4 separate regions of the Homo sapiens genome follow, and all the other regions are linked to region 1. The links are contacts of gene promoters, found by promoter capture Hi-C in blood cells and fetal thymus (Javierre and others, 2016). All regions are on one chromosome and are shown on one strand. The core of a region is centred on a gene start or on the middle of the fragment in contact, and the rest is flanking DNA. Distances in the headings are between cores, read along the strand shown.

Region 1 (3,151 bases), core at 453-2,952:
TTCTTCCTTAAAAACACCCTCCTTCCTCATGGTCCCTCACAGGCATACATCCCTGACTCTCCCCTGTGGTTCCCATTAGCTCGAATTGGAACTGAATCCCACACCTCTCCTTCATGGCAGCCTACACTCTTCCTTCTTCAGATGAGCTACTTCGTTCCTTCATTAAATAAGCATTCATTGGGCATTTACTATGCCCTTGGCACAGAAAGACAAGAAAGATCTCGTGCCTGCCCCTTAAGAAGGTCGCAATCCAATTCAAGGTGGATCTACAGGGATTGGGTAAAGGGGTTTTTTGCACACAGGCTTCGGAATCAGATCTGTGCTCAGGTCCTGTGCCTACCACTCATTTAGCCTTGGTTTCCTCACACAAAAAACAGGAATAATAACACCGCCTGCTTCACAGGGCTGACGTGCAGATTAAGCGTGATGACACATGCTGTTCCATGTTTGAAAGGCTGTTGACTGGTAAATCCTTATTAAGGCTGTTGACTGGTAAATCCTTATATAATCAGTGCTCAGTAATACTTTTTATCTTAAAGGCAAATAACTGTAATAGACTATATTGGATGAAGACCTCACTGCTTTGATCAAGTAATGGCTGGTTTACTTGCTTCTGCTTCTCTCACTAGAGAGGGCAGACAACGGTAAATGTCTGTTGAACGAATACAGACCTGAGGTGCTACAGGAGAGGCCCATAGGGACCCTGAGGAGGAAAGGCATCAGAGAAATTGATCTTTGAGGGCCTGGCCCCACCCTCTCCGGGATCCCAGGGCATTTTACCACATTCTGATTGTAATTACCTGTTTGCTAACATCCCCACTAACGTGAGCTCTCTCTAACCCTGGGGCTATTCTCCAGGCTGCAGCAGGGCAAAGGCGGGGTCCCAACACCATAGAGAACGCCACCCCTGTCCATGCTGTCCCCCACTTCACCTTTTCTTGGAGCGGTCCTTCCACACTCGCCCCGATTTGGGCTTCCCCTTCGGGATTACAGGAAGCTCCTCTTTATTCAACTTCTTGGACGCTGGGGCCTGGGATGAAGAACCTTTTCGCTTCTTTGCCCCGAAGCCGCCTGTCACCGTCTCCCCAGCTGGAGGTGGCTTGCTCGGCTCATGCTGACCCCGGGGGGAGCCAGGTGCCCTGGGTGTCAGCTCCAGTAGTGGCTGAGAGGGCTCCGGACCGGGAGCTTGCTGACCGGGGTAAGGCTCTGGTGATCCTGGGACCGGCGGTAGCTGATGCTGGGGGGCCCCCGGGGTCAGCTCCTCCTTATTCTGGGCCAACTCCGAGGCCAGTACTCCCTGGTCCTGAGAACACTTTGGTGCCTCCTCACTTGGCTTCGGCTGACATCGTGGGGATTCAGGACTGTACTCTGGCTGTCTTTGAGGCGACTCCAGGTGTAGGTCTTGCTGACGCTGGGGGGACGCTGCGCCTGGCTCTGGCTGCCCTTGGGGTGACTCCAAGCCTGCACCCTGCTGCAGACGGGGTGATCCTGGGCTTGTCTTCGGCGGCCTTTCGGGGGACCCCAGGCCAGCCCGCTGCACACTCGGAGGAGACCCGGGCTCCCTCGTTTCTTCTGGGTTCGACTCGAACTCCACAAGGGCCCGTCTCGTCCGCGAAACTGAGGTGAGGCTCTCGGGGGATTCGGGCCTTAGGCCTCCCAGCCGTCGGCTGCGCCTTAACGGTGTATCCATGGCTCAGCCGGTAAGTTTCCACACCCCTGCGCACGTGCAGCCCCCGCCGAAACCGGCGCCTTCCTATGACGTCAGGAGTCGCCGCGTCCGTGACGCACAGGAGGGGGGCTGTTGCTGAGGCGGCCATGTTGGTGAGGGGTGGAGAGGCGGGACCGGGGTTGGGGAGAGTGGGGCTCAGCATGCGCATGCGCAATTCGCGCGAGCGCAGTCAACATGTGATTGATGAGCCAGTCTTTTTCCTGGGATTCGCTTTTGCCTTTCTTGCAAAGTTTCCTGGGGAAAGAAGAGCGAGCAAGTAGAAAAGGGAAAGTGGGAGGACCCATTTCAGGGAGAGAACAGAGTCGAAAAAAGGTCCGAGGAGCCCATAGGCAAGGCCCAGTGGATGTTTTGCAGCCAACTCCGGTGCAGTTGGGCAGAGTCCTGCCCTCCTTGGGCCTGTTTTCTCATTTGTAATAGGGGTCATTTTGCACTAGCTTCGTGCATCCCAAATGATCCTGTCAGAGTCCTCCTCCCACCTACCTGAGGGACTGCTACCTGGGGGTCCTGGAGGTGGAAGATCGGTCTTTTCTGTGTTAATTGTTCACACTCTTGATTCTTCCGTCCTGTGCTTCCGTATATAATCCATAGCTCTCCCTCCCTTTTCAGCGTTTTCAACGTTTGTGAGGGAAGTTGAGGTACCAATAAGATGCACCACCTTTGTCCTGTGGCTCACCTGGGCCCTCGACCAGCTGCATATCCTCCCACGTCCCTCTTCTTCTACCCCAGTTCTAGAAACGGGTTGGATCATCTCCGATCTTCCTTTCAGCCCAGACAGTGGTTTTTGCTCGTGTGTGAACCTGCTTCGCCTCCCCTCCCTTCCCTTGCTATTCACCTGTAAATGTACTTTGCTTACTAAGCACTTTGGGACCTCACCAGTGAGCAGGTGTTGACTTCTGGACCTCCCAAGGCCTAGAGAAGACTCTCGGGATGTGGGGTTGGGGAATGTGGGGCTGTGGAGACTTTCGTGTGAGACCTAGGAGTGGGGCTTTGATTTACTTACAGCATGCTTCTTAGGAAGAACATCTTGGAAGTGGCCCAGTTGTGTAATTCTTGGAACTGCCTGGGGTTGGCCATTAAAGGTCCCAGGGCCCCGTCTGACATTCCAGTGGTTTCTTTTAGAAACCATTGTTTCTCCAGCTGCGGGCTTGTGAGAGGGCCTGGGAAATTGTCCAAGAATATCAGGGATCAGAGTGTCCTCATCTTCCTCATGTTCCTGAGTCAAGGAGACCCCTGCAGGGGGGCTTTGCCTGCCTCACTGCTCCTCTCCGGCCATGCAGCTGTCCACAGCAGAAGCAGCCGGGACACCTCCTTGCCCAGCTCTTCCACCCCCCAACTGTCAGAGGAGTGAGTTCCATTCAGTTCCTTAAATGCCCTGCCCCTGCCTGGAGACCCCAATGATCTGACACTCAGAACCAAGCCCGG
Region 2 (3,151 bases), core at 256-2,755, 240 kb before region 1:
CATTTTAAATACTAAAAGCACACTGTAAAAATTGAATTAGTTACCTCCATCCCAACTTACTTCTAGTAGATCTGAATACTGATTGGCTGAGTTTACTTAAAGAGGGACACACTTGAGTAGGTTTATAACTACTTTAGGGATCAGGATTTTTCTGTTCCATGATGGGCACTCTAGGTGCCCTGTGACTGTCAGTGTGGAAGAGGTCCAGGTCCACCTCGAGGGACAGGTTTGATATAAGAATAAGACATGTTTGTGATCATTAGTGAGTGTCCAGGACTCCACCTTGGGGGACAAATTTGATATAAAAGTGAGACATGTTTGTGATCATTTACTGAATGTCCAGGACATTCCTCGAGTGACTTCTGTTTGTCTTTGATGGCGGGTCCTTCCCTTTGCCCATTGCTGGGAGGTTTGGAGGAGCTGAGGTCACCAGCCTTGTTTCAGAGATGAGGAGACTGAAGTTCTGAGAGATGAGGGGATGGGTCCAGGTGCAGTCAGCCTTGGCCTGTGGCAAGAGGCAGGTCCCCAAGGCAATCTGGAGAGAGTCGGTTCTGGTCTGGTGTGGAGGGTGGGAGGGCATAGCTCAACAACTTCTACCCCATCCACACCGATGTGGAGCGCTCACCTCGATATGTGTCCCAGCAAGCCCCAACACTTCAGCATGGGTTATATGTTCCTAATTCTGTAAGCTCTTCTGAGGCCAGGGCCATGTTGGGTTGACCCTGTGGGATGATCTGGAAACAAATACTTATTGGTGTTATATGTGGTGATGATGATAGTGATGATCATGTCAATGATGAGAATGATGATAATGGCAGTAATGATGCTGATGGTGATGATGAAATGATGAAGATGATGGTGATGATGATGTCAGTAATGTTGATGAAGTCGATGATGATGATGATGGTGGTGATAATAGCTACCATTTACTAAGGGCTTACACAGTGCTAGGGACTCTATGTAATTACATTATCTTAGTTTTTTTCCCCAGAGTGAGTATGACACCTTGGCCGGGCGTAGTGGCTCGTGCCTGTAATCCCAGCACTTTGGGAGGCCGAGGCAGGAGAATCACTTGAGCCCAGGAGTTAAAGACCAGCCTGGGCAACACGGTGAAACCCTGTCTCTATAAAAAAATTAAAAAAAAATTATCCAGGCATGGTGGTGTGTGCCTGTAGTCCCAGCCACTTGGGAGGCAGAGATGGGAGGATTGCTTGAGCCCAGGAGGTTGAGGCTGCAGTGAGCTGTGATCATGCCACTGCACTCCAACCTGGGTGACAGAGTTAATATATACATACCACCTTCACTGATGTGGAGGATGACTTGAGGTGGCTCACAGATGAACATTTTTATCTTAATAATGTGTTTGTTTTACTTTATATTAATTTATATACTGAAAATAGATAACTAGCTCACCAGATTCATGGTTTATACATTTCATTTTTAGATTAACTAGTGAGTTGATTTAAAGGAAAAATATTAAGTAAAAATAATATTTGGTACTTGGATAAGGTAAACGTGAATGGAAATTTTGAATCATTGACATTTGGAAGCATTTGGGGCAGATATCATTTTTATTCTATTTTGCAGAAGAGTGAGTAGATACTCAGAGAGTTTAATTAGCCTGAGATTATACACCATCCAGGTGGTAAAGCTGGGCTGGAACCCAGATGCTTAATTTAAAACAACAACAACTTTTTACTTATATATGGGATACACACAGCACAGTACATGCAGTGTGTTATAAATGTAACTTCACACACTGCACGTGCTGGTGTAACCAGCACCTGGGAGGCTCCCCACTGCCCCGCACTGCTCCCTACCCAAGTATCCACTGTCCTGACTTCTGTCATCATAGATTGGCTTTGCCTTTTCTTTGAACTTTATTTTATTTATTTATTATTTTGAGACAAGAGTCTGTCACCCAGGCTGGAGTGCAGTGGTGCCATCTTGGCTCACTGCAGCTTCTGCCTCCCAGGTTCAAATGAGTCTCCTGCATCAGCCTCCCGAGCAGCTGGGATTACAGGTGTGCACCACCACGTCTGGCTAATTTTTATTTTTTATTTTTTTTATTTTTTTTTTTTTTAAGAAATTTAGATTTTATTCTTTTTTTTTTTTTTTTTTTATTATACTCTAAGTTTTAGGGTACATGTGCACATTGTGCAGGTTAGTTACATATGTATACATGTGCCATGCTGGTGCGCTGCACCCACTAATGTGTCATCTAGCATTAGGTATATCTCCCAATGCTATCCCTCCCCCCTCCCCCGACCCCACCACAGTCCCCAGAGTGTGATATTCCCCTTCCTGTGTCCATGTGATCTCATTGTTCAATTCCCACCTATGAGTGAGAATATGCGGTGTTTGGTTTTTTGTTCTTGCGATAGTTTACTGAGAATGATGGTTTCCAATTTCATCCATGTCCCTACAAAGGATATGAACTCATCATTTTTTATGGCTGCATAGTATTCCATGGTGTATATGTGCCACATTTTCTTAATCCAGTCTATCATTGTTGGACATTTGGGTTGGTTCCAAGTCTTTGCTATTGTGAATAGTGCCGCAATAAACATACGTGTGCATGTGTCTTTATAGCAGCATGATTTATACTCATTTGGGTATATACCCAGTAATGGGATGGCTGGGTCAAATGGTATTTCTAGTTCTAGATCCCTGAGGAATCGCCACACTGACTTCCACAATGGTTGAACTAGTTTACAGTCCCACCAACAGTGTAAAAGTGTTCCTATTTCTCCGCATCCTCTCCAGCACCTGTTGTTTCCTGACTTTTTAATGATTGCCATTCTAACTGGTGTGAGATGATATCTCATAGTGGTTTTGATTTGCATTTCTCTGATGGCCAGTGATGATGAGCATTTCTTCATGTGTTTTTTGGCTGCATAAATGTCTTCTTTTGAGAAGTGTCTGTTCATGTCCTTCGCCCACTTTTTGATGGGGTTGTTTGTTTTTTTCTTGTAAATTTGTTTGAGTTCATTGTAGATTCTGGATATTAGCCCTTTGTCAGATGAGTAGGTTGCAAAAATTTTCTCCCATGTTGTAGGTTGCCTGTTCACTCTGATGGTAGTTTCTTTTGCTGTGCAGAAGCTCTTTAGTTTAATTAGATCCCATTTGTCAATTTTGTCTTTTGTTGCCA
Region 3 (3,151 bases), core at 450-2,949, 220 kb before region 1:
GGAAACGCGAAAGGTGACAGGGTGCTTTCAATAGAAAACGGAGTGAGATGGATGATGGAGTGAACGTGGAGTGGGCATGCGAACATGAGGCCCTTGGTGGGGAAACGGGTGCCTCCGACAGGCACTGCACCTTCCAGCTGCGTGCACTGAGGCTGGTCTACGCAGGCCAGACATCTGGGGGGGCCCAAGTGAAGAGAGGCAGAATGTCTAGGTCAAGTTTGTCCAACCCGCATCCCAGGACGGCTTTGAGTGTGGCCCAACACAAATTTGTAAACTTTCTTAAAACATTACGAGATTTTTGTGTGTGTGAATTTTTAGCTTATCAGCCATCGTTAGTGTCAGTATATTTCTTTTTTCTTTTCTTTTTGTTTTGTTTTGTTTTGAGATGGAATCTCACTCTTGTCGCCAGACTGGAGTGCAGTGGCGTGATCTCAGCTCACTGCAACCTCTGCCTCCTGGGTTCAAGGGATTCTCCGGCCTCAGCCTCCCGAGTAGCTGGGATTACAGACGCCAGCCATCATGCCCAGCTACTTTTTGTATTTTCAGTTGAGACGGCCAGGCTGCATGTTGGCTAGGCTGGTGTTGAACTCCTGACCTCAGGTGATCCGCCCGCTTTGGCCTCCCAAAGTGCTGGGATTACAAGCATGAGCCACCGCGCCCTGCCGTGTCAGTGTATTTCATGCGTGGCCCAAGATAATTCTCCCAGTGTGGCCCACGGAAGCCAAAAGCTTGGACAACCCTGGCCTAGGTGTTTTGTCTACACAGTAACAAATATGCAACACGCATATGACTGCTCTGTGTGCTCCCGACAGCATCTCTACTCCATCATAGTATGCGTGTCTGCTGAGTTCAGACGCGGCTCAGACTGATTCTCTGCATAATCGGTGTTTCTTTTTCTTTTCTTTCTTGCTTTCTTTTTTTTTTTTTTTTTTTCGAGACAAGGTCTCACTCTGTTGCTCTGGCTGGAGTGCAGTGGCACAATAATAGCTCACTGCAGTCTGAACCTTCCAGGCTCAAGTGATCTTCCCACCTCATCCTCCCGAGTAGTTGGCACCCCAGGCACACACCACCATGTCCAGCTAATTATTATTATTATTATTTTTTTTTGTAGAGACGGGGTCTCGCTATGTTGCCCAGGTTGGTCTCAAACTCCTCGGCTCAAGCAGTTCTCCTGCCTTGGCCTCCCAAAGTACTGGGATTACAGGTATGAGCCACAGTGTCCGGCCATAATCAGTGTTTCATACCATCAGATCTGGTACATGGATTGAAACCTGTTTGCTAATTCCAGTCTACATGGAGCCAACCACTATGAAAACCTGGAAACTTGGTTGGGTTTTTTAGCTTTTATCTTGGTCTCTGGCTTGATTGAATGTAGATGCTCATGGGGTAGAATCTGAGCGCTCAAGACACGACCACCCAGTGCCTCCTGAAATATCACTGTTAGTCACTCCTTAGGGTGCCCTTTCAAAGTAGGAAATGCGGGAATCTTTTTGAATAGCACCTTCGTGTGGATTTTATAGCCTAAGAAAGGGTCCTGGGATAGCAGCAGAGCTGGGAAACTTTGGGAAGGGAGAGAAGGAAAGATGGAGGGCTCGACCCTCTCTGCAGACTTCCAGCCGGGGGACCAGCCCTGGATTGAAAAACAGGCAAGTGGCCAGGCGCGGTGGCTCACACCTGTAATCCCAGCACTTTGGGAGGCCGAGGCAGGCAGATCACCTGAAGTCAGGAGTTTGAGGCCAGCCTAGCCAACATGGTAAAACCCTGTCTCTACTAAAACTACAAAAATTGGCTGGATGTGGTGGCACGTGCCTATAGTCCCAGCTACTCAGGAGGCTGAGGCTGGAGAATCACTTGAACCTGGGAGGCGAATGTTGCAGTGAGCAGAGATCACGCCACTGTACTCTAGCTTGGGCAATAGAACGAGACTCCGTCTCAAAAAAAAAAATATAGTAAAATAGGCAAGCAATGATGAAGAGGACACATAGCAACAGGGCCTCTCACATCCACAGGTCACTTCCCAGTGTACAAAGCGCTCTCATTTAAAAGATGAGGAGACAGACACAGAGAAGCTCAGCCAGGCATCAGTGCCACACAGCAAACAGGCAGAATTGTCAAATGTGACCCTAACACCCAAGACCTTTCCACAGCTGAGTGAAGTGTTGTCATAGATCTCCTAGTTGTCAAATTACTTTCCTGCTTTTTTTTTTTTTTTTTTGAGACAGAGTCTCGATCAGTTGCCCAGGCTAGAGTGCAGTGGCGTGATCTCGGCTCACTGCAACCTTCGCCTCCCGGATTCAAGCAATTCTCTTGACTCAGCCTCCCGAGTAGCTGGGACTACAGGCGCCCGCCATCATGCCTAGCTAATTTTTTATTTTTGTAGAGACAGGGTTTCACCATGTTGGCCAGGTGGTCTTGAACTCCTGACCTCAGGTGACCCGCCTGCCTCGGCCTCCCAAAGTGCTGGGATTACAGGCGTGAGCCACCACCGTGCCCCACCCTTTTCCTGCTTCTTTCCTGACCACACCATCAGCAGGTCTGTAACTGCTGCTTCTCTGCAGCGTCCCAGAACTAAGCACGTGAATGGCACACGTGAAATAGAAACATGATGTGTCTTTCTCACTCGTGGTCCATGGGGCTTGGCCCCATCTCCCCAACTGGAGGGAAGCTTCTCGTGGCACCATGATCTCGGGCTGTCCCCTCTGCCCACCTCCAGCCTTCCTAACAGTGCTCCATGGTTCAGTGTGGCTTCAAGTTGAAAACATGGTGGGCAGGAGAGGTTTTGGGGGCTGGGAGTAAAGTGAAGTGGTTGACCTGGCCACTGTTTTTTAAGCCTCTGCGACTGGTTTGGTTTAACACTGAAGTGGAATCTGTGTATTAAATGCTGTAATGCCTTAAAATTAACTCCCCCGAGAGCATCTGCCTAATTTTTCTCCTTTGGCTCTATGTAAGTTGCCTTGGCAGGGTCTCTGCGAATCTTAGTCTTCCATATGAAAAAGTACTGCTTGCTAAGTATAGCTTATATCCTGAGCCCCAGGGAGAAAATAGAGAAAAGATTTCCGGTAAAATCAACCTCCGTAGAAGTTCAGTAGAGGGACCTCTTCACACTTGCCCCGGTTCTGATCCTGCATGAACAGTACTTTATCCTCTCCTC
Region 4 (3,151 bases), core at 228-2,727, 200 kb before region 1:
GGTGGGCAGGGAAGAGATCAGATCTGTTTTGATGGGTAAGAACAAAAGGTGAGGTGGTTGAAGAAGATGTGGAAAGGGCCCACGGTGCACTTTGTTCTGAAATTGCAGTGACTGGGGGTGACTCGGATCAGCCCATCAAAGTGACACCCCTCTTCAGGTGGCCCAATCATCAAAGGTGGGGGAAAGGGCTGGGAGCTAGGGGGCCAGTCTTTTGTCCTGTCTCTGACTTGTAACATTTATTTCCCTTCCCATTCACCATAAGTATGAGGCAACAGTACACAAAACGGAGCAGGATGAAAAATAACCCAGAGAACTCTGTGTGATAGGAAAGCACGGGTGAAAAGATGAATTGATGAGAAAGTTATCCACATGATGCATCATATCAAAAGGTCTGTTCATGTTGTAGGTGGTGGGACACTGGTTTGATTCTGAGCTTCCTGGTGGCCAAGGCAAAGAGGCAAACCCAGAGGCTTGAGGACCCTCTCTACTGTCTCAAAAGACATTCTCGTCATCTTTATGAGCAACAAACAGCAAGTTTCATCATGCTGTTTCCCACAAAATCCCTCAATTCCTGAAGGTCTGCCCCAAAGCACAAGTCAGTAAAAGCAGCTCTTCAGGGCCAAAGCAAGTGAATGCTTGTGAATGATACAAGCTGCTAGGTGCGATTACTGTTGTAGCGGGGATTTATGCATCAGAGGACTGGCTTTTCTAAACCTGGTTTCTAGAGTCAGAGGCACTTTTTAAAGCTGGAATTCTCAACAAGGGTTTTTCCTAACTGCCTTCAGAAACTGGCCAGTCTTCAGAAATGAAGTGATGTGCAAAAGTGAAGTGTGCCTGGCACATAGTAGGTGCCCAGTTAAGGTTTGTTGTTACTGTGGTTGGATAAAGCCAGTCTGCCTGGTTGAATCTCACTCTCATGCTTGCTATGCAACATCAAAAGCTCTTTTCTGGGAAGAGGCCCATTAGGAGCATTTGTCAGGGGTGTGATGCTGATAGCAGGTGGATTATTGAGAGATTTGCTGCAGAGCAAACACCGAGCTCAAGGCATCCTAATATGTATGTATGTTTGAGGTTCAAGGAAAAGTGCAGGTAAAGAAAATGGGCAGAACTCTGAGAGCAGTCTGTAGAAAAAGAGAACTCGACCACTGGGAGAAAGGCAGATGGCTGCACAGTTGTGCTTCTTTGAATGCTACTGGCCTGACTGAAGACAGAGCTGCATTCCAGCATGATTGTAGCCCAAGTTGGCATCAGAAGCCACCTTCCAGTCACCCTGCAGATCGGGAAATATGTACTGTTGAAGTCTGGTGGTAATTTGAGGGCTTCCACAGTATCATTTTAGAGAGGATCCCTATTCTTAGCTGTGCAGATTGCTCTAAATTACATTGAGCACTTCATATTCTTGAGAAACCAGCTGCCACTGCAGGAAATCAGAGAATACTACAGCTGGAGGCACCTCAGGAATCGCCATGTCCTTGTCTTACAAGGGACGAAACTGATGCCCTGACCTGAATAGTGAATTCACAGTAGAATATTAACACTACAGCAGAGGCTGACTCCCGCAGTCCATATCATTTATTGGTATGTTAATGATTAAGTGAAATATTGCAAACAACTTCAAGGTGCATCAATAGAGCATTGGTTAAATAAATAATGGTACGTCCATAAGACAAGATGTATGGGTGGAAATATTTTCACATGGACCATTAAGAAAGAATGAGGTTGATGGACTTTTATTGCTGTGGAAGGATGTCCATGACATATTGATGAGGAAAAGAAGCAATTTGCAAATAACATGCATGTGTCTCTGTATGTGTGTCTACATATAGGTATGTGTATGTATAGAGGTGGTTATCTCCAGGTGGTAGGATTCCAGATTATTTTTACCTTCTTTAGAGATTTTGTGCAGTGTTTAGCCTTTTTTTTTCTTGTTTCCTTTCTATGAGTGTGGATTTGTTATAATAAAAAGTTACATTAATGTTTTTTTTTTTTGAGACGGAGTCTCACTCAGTCGCCCAGGCTGGAGTGCAGTGGTGCCATCTCGGCTCACTGCAAGCTCCGCCTCCCAGGTTCACACCATTCTCCCGCCTCAGGCTCCCGAGTAGCTGGGACTACAGGCGCCCACCACCACGCCCGGGCAATTTTTTTTTTGTATTTTTAGTAGAGACGGGGTTTCACCGTTTTAGCCAGGATGGTCTTGATCTCCTGACCTCATGATCCGCCTGCCTCGGCCTCCCAAAGTGCTGGGATTACAGGCGTGAGCCACCGCACCTGGCCTATATTAATTTTTAAACATGTTAATTGCTCATTTAAAATAGGTTTCAAAAAAATTATCAAGGAAATACATGTTTATGGCACAAAACTTGGAAAACTATTTTAAAAACTAGAAAGAGAAAAAAGAATCCCATCCAAATCTACCATTCAGAGCATCGTGGGCAGCCCTCCTAGGCTTGTTTGCTGTACATCTTGCTGGGATTTTGTAAGAAGAATCCCTTCTGAAAACTGCATGAAATTCTCTTAGATCTAGATACCGGCATTTACCAGATGGGTTTCCTAGATGTTAGACATCTCATTCTAGTTTTTCCTTATATAGTAGAGGACATCTTTGTGCGTATATGTTTGTCTACACTGTTTTCTTGGCAGTTTCTAAATGTGGGTCTCCTGGTCAAAAGCGCAGGCATTGTTAAAGCCCTCGGTACGCATTTTCCAGTTGCTTTTAAAAGCTGTCTCTCAATTTACATTCCAACCTGAAGCACAAGGGAGTGCCTATTTGACCCCGATCTCATGGACGTGATGACTGTCTTTTAAAAATACTTACTAATTAATGAATCATCTTTGAGCACGCCTGGCAACCTGGAGGCTGGTGCAGAGCTCTGGGGTGCTGTGGGCATCATATCATATTGGCTTCCTGACCTTGGCATCCCTTCCAGCTGACTCCAATAAAGATCCCAGGGGAATGAGGGACAGAGGCCCCAAGTATCGTAACTTATAGGTTGAAGGCAGTTCTCCCTAAACCCAAATGGTATTTGTATGTGTGTAGTGGGGGGATTTAAGTAATTTTAAAGTTTACCTAAAGGATAAGCTGGAGACAATTACTGAGAATTTTTTGAAAAATGGGAGTGATGAAACAGAGTTTGCCCTTGCAGATAATAAG

The links. Contacts are between HindIII fragments. The CHiCAGO score rates a contact against its expected background, and 5 or more counts as called.
Region 2: a fragment that was not itself captured here is called in contact with the fragment with the promoter of CCDC86 in region 1 in 1 of 17 cell types (naive CD4 T cells); the score reaches 5.4 in naive CD4 T cells.
Region 3: a contact is called between a fragment that was not itself captured here and the fragment with the promoter of CCDC86 in region 1, in 1 of 17 cell types (naive CD8 T cells). The highest score is 5.9, in naive CD8 T cells.
Region 4: a contact is called between a fragment that was not itself captured here and the fragment with the promoter of CCDC86 in region 1, in 1 of 17 cell types (naive CD8 T cells). The highest score is 5.6, in naive CD8 T cells.

Annotation. Positions count from the first base shown.
Region 1 is chr11:60,840,664-60,843,814 of GRCh38, reverse strand. CCDC86 (coiled-coil domain containing 86) reads right to left here and starts at 1,702. Exons shown (of 4, transcript NM_024098.4): 1 at 933-1,702. The coding sequence starts at 1,690. CCDC86-AS1 (CCDC86 antisense RNA 1) reads left to right here. Exons shown (of 2, transcript NR_182293.1): 2 at 1,835-2,009. RefSeq lists enhancers at 1,277-1,506, 1,413-2,612. The HindIII fragment of the contact is 9,112 bases long and covers 1-3,151 here.
Region 2 is chr11:61,085,329-61,088,479 of GRCh38, reverse strand. All of the region lies in intron 1 of LOC105369325 (a long non-coding RNA gene), which reads left to right. Among named protein-coding and RNA genes, the nearest start is that of CD5, 16 kb to the left of the region's middle. The HindIII fragment of the contact is 5,909 bases long and covers 1-3,151 here.
Region 3 is chr11:61,062,917-61,066,067 of GRCh38, reverse strand. The region is part of intron 3 of LINC02954 (long intergenic non-protein coding RNA 2954); the gene reads right to left. All of the region lies in intron 1 of LOC105369325 (a long non-coding RNA gene), which reads left to right. Among named protein-coding and RNA genes, the nearest start is that of LINC02954, 9.1 kb to the right of the region's middle. The HindIII fragment of the contact is 1,937 bases long and covers 731-2,667 here.
Region 4 is chr11:61,045,144-61,048,294 of GRCh38, reverse strand. All of the region lies in intron 1 of LOC105369325 (a long non-coding RNA gene), which reads left to right. Among named protein-coding and RNA genes, the nearest start is that of LINC02954, 8.7 kb to the left of the region's middle. The HindIII fragment of the contact is 3,449 bases long and covers 1-3,151 here.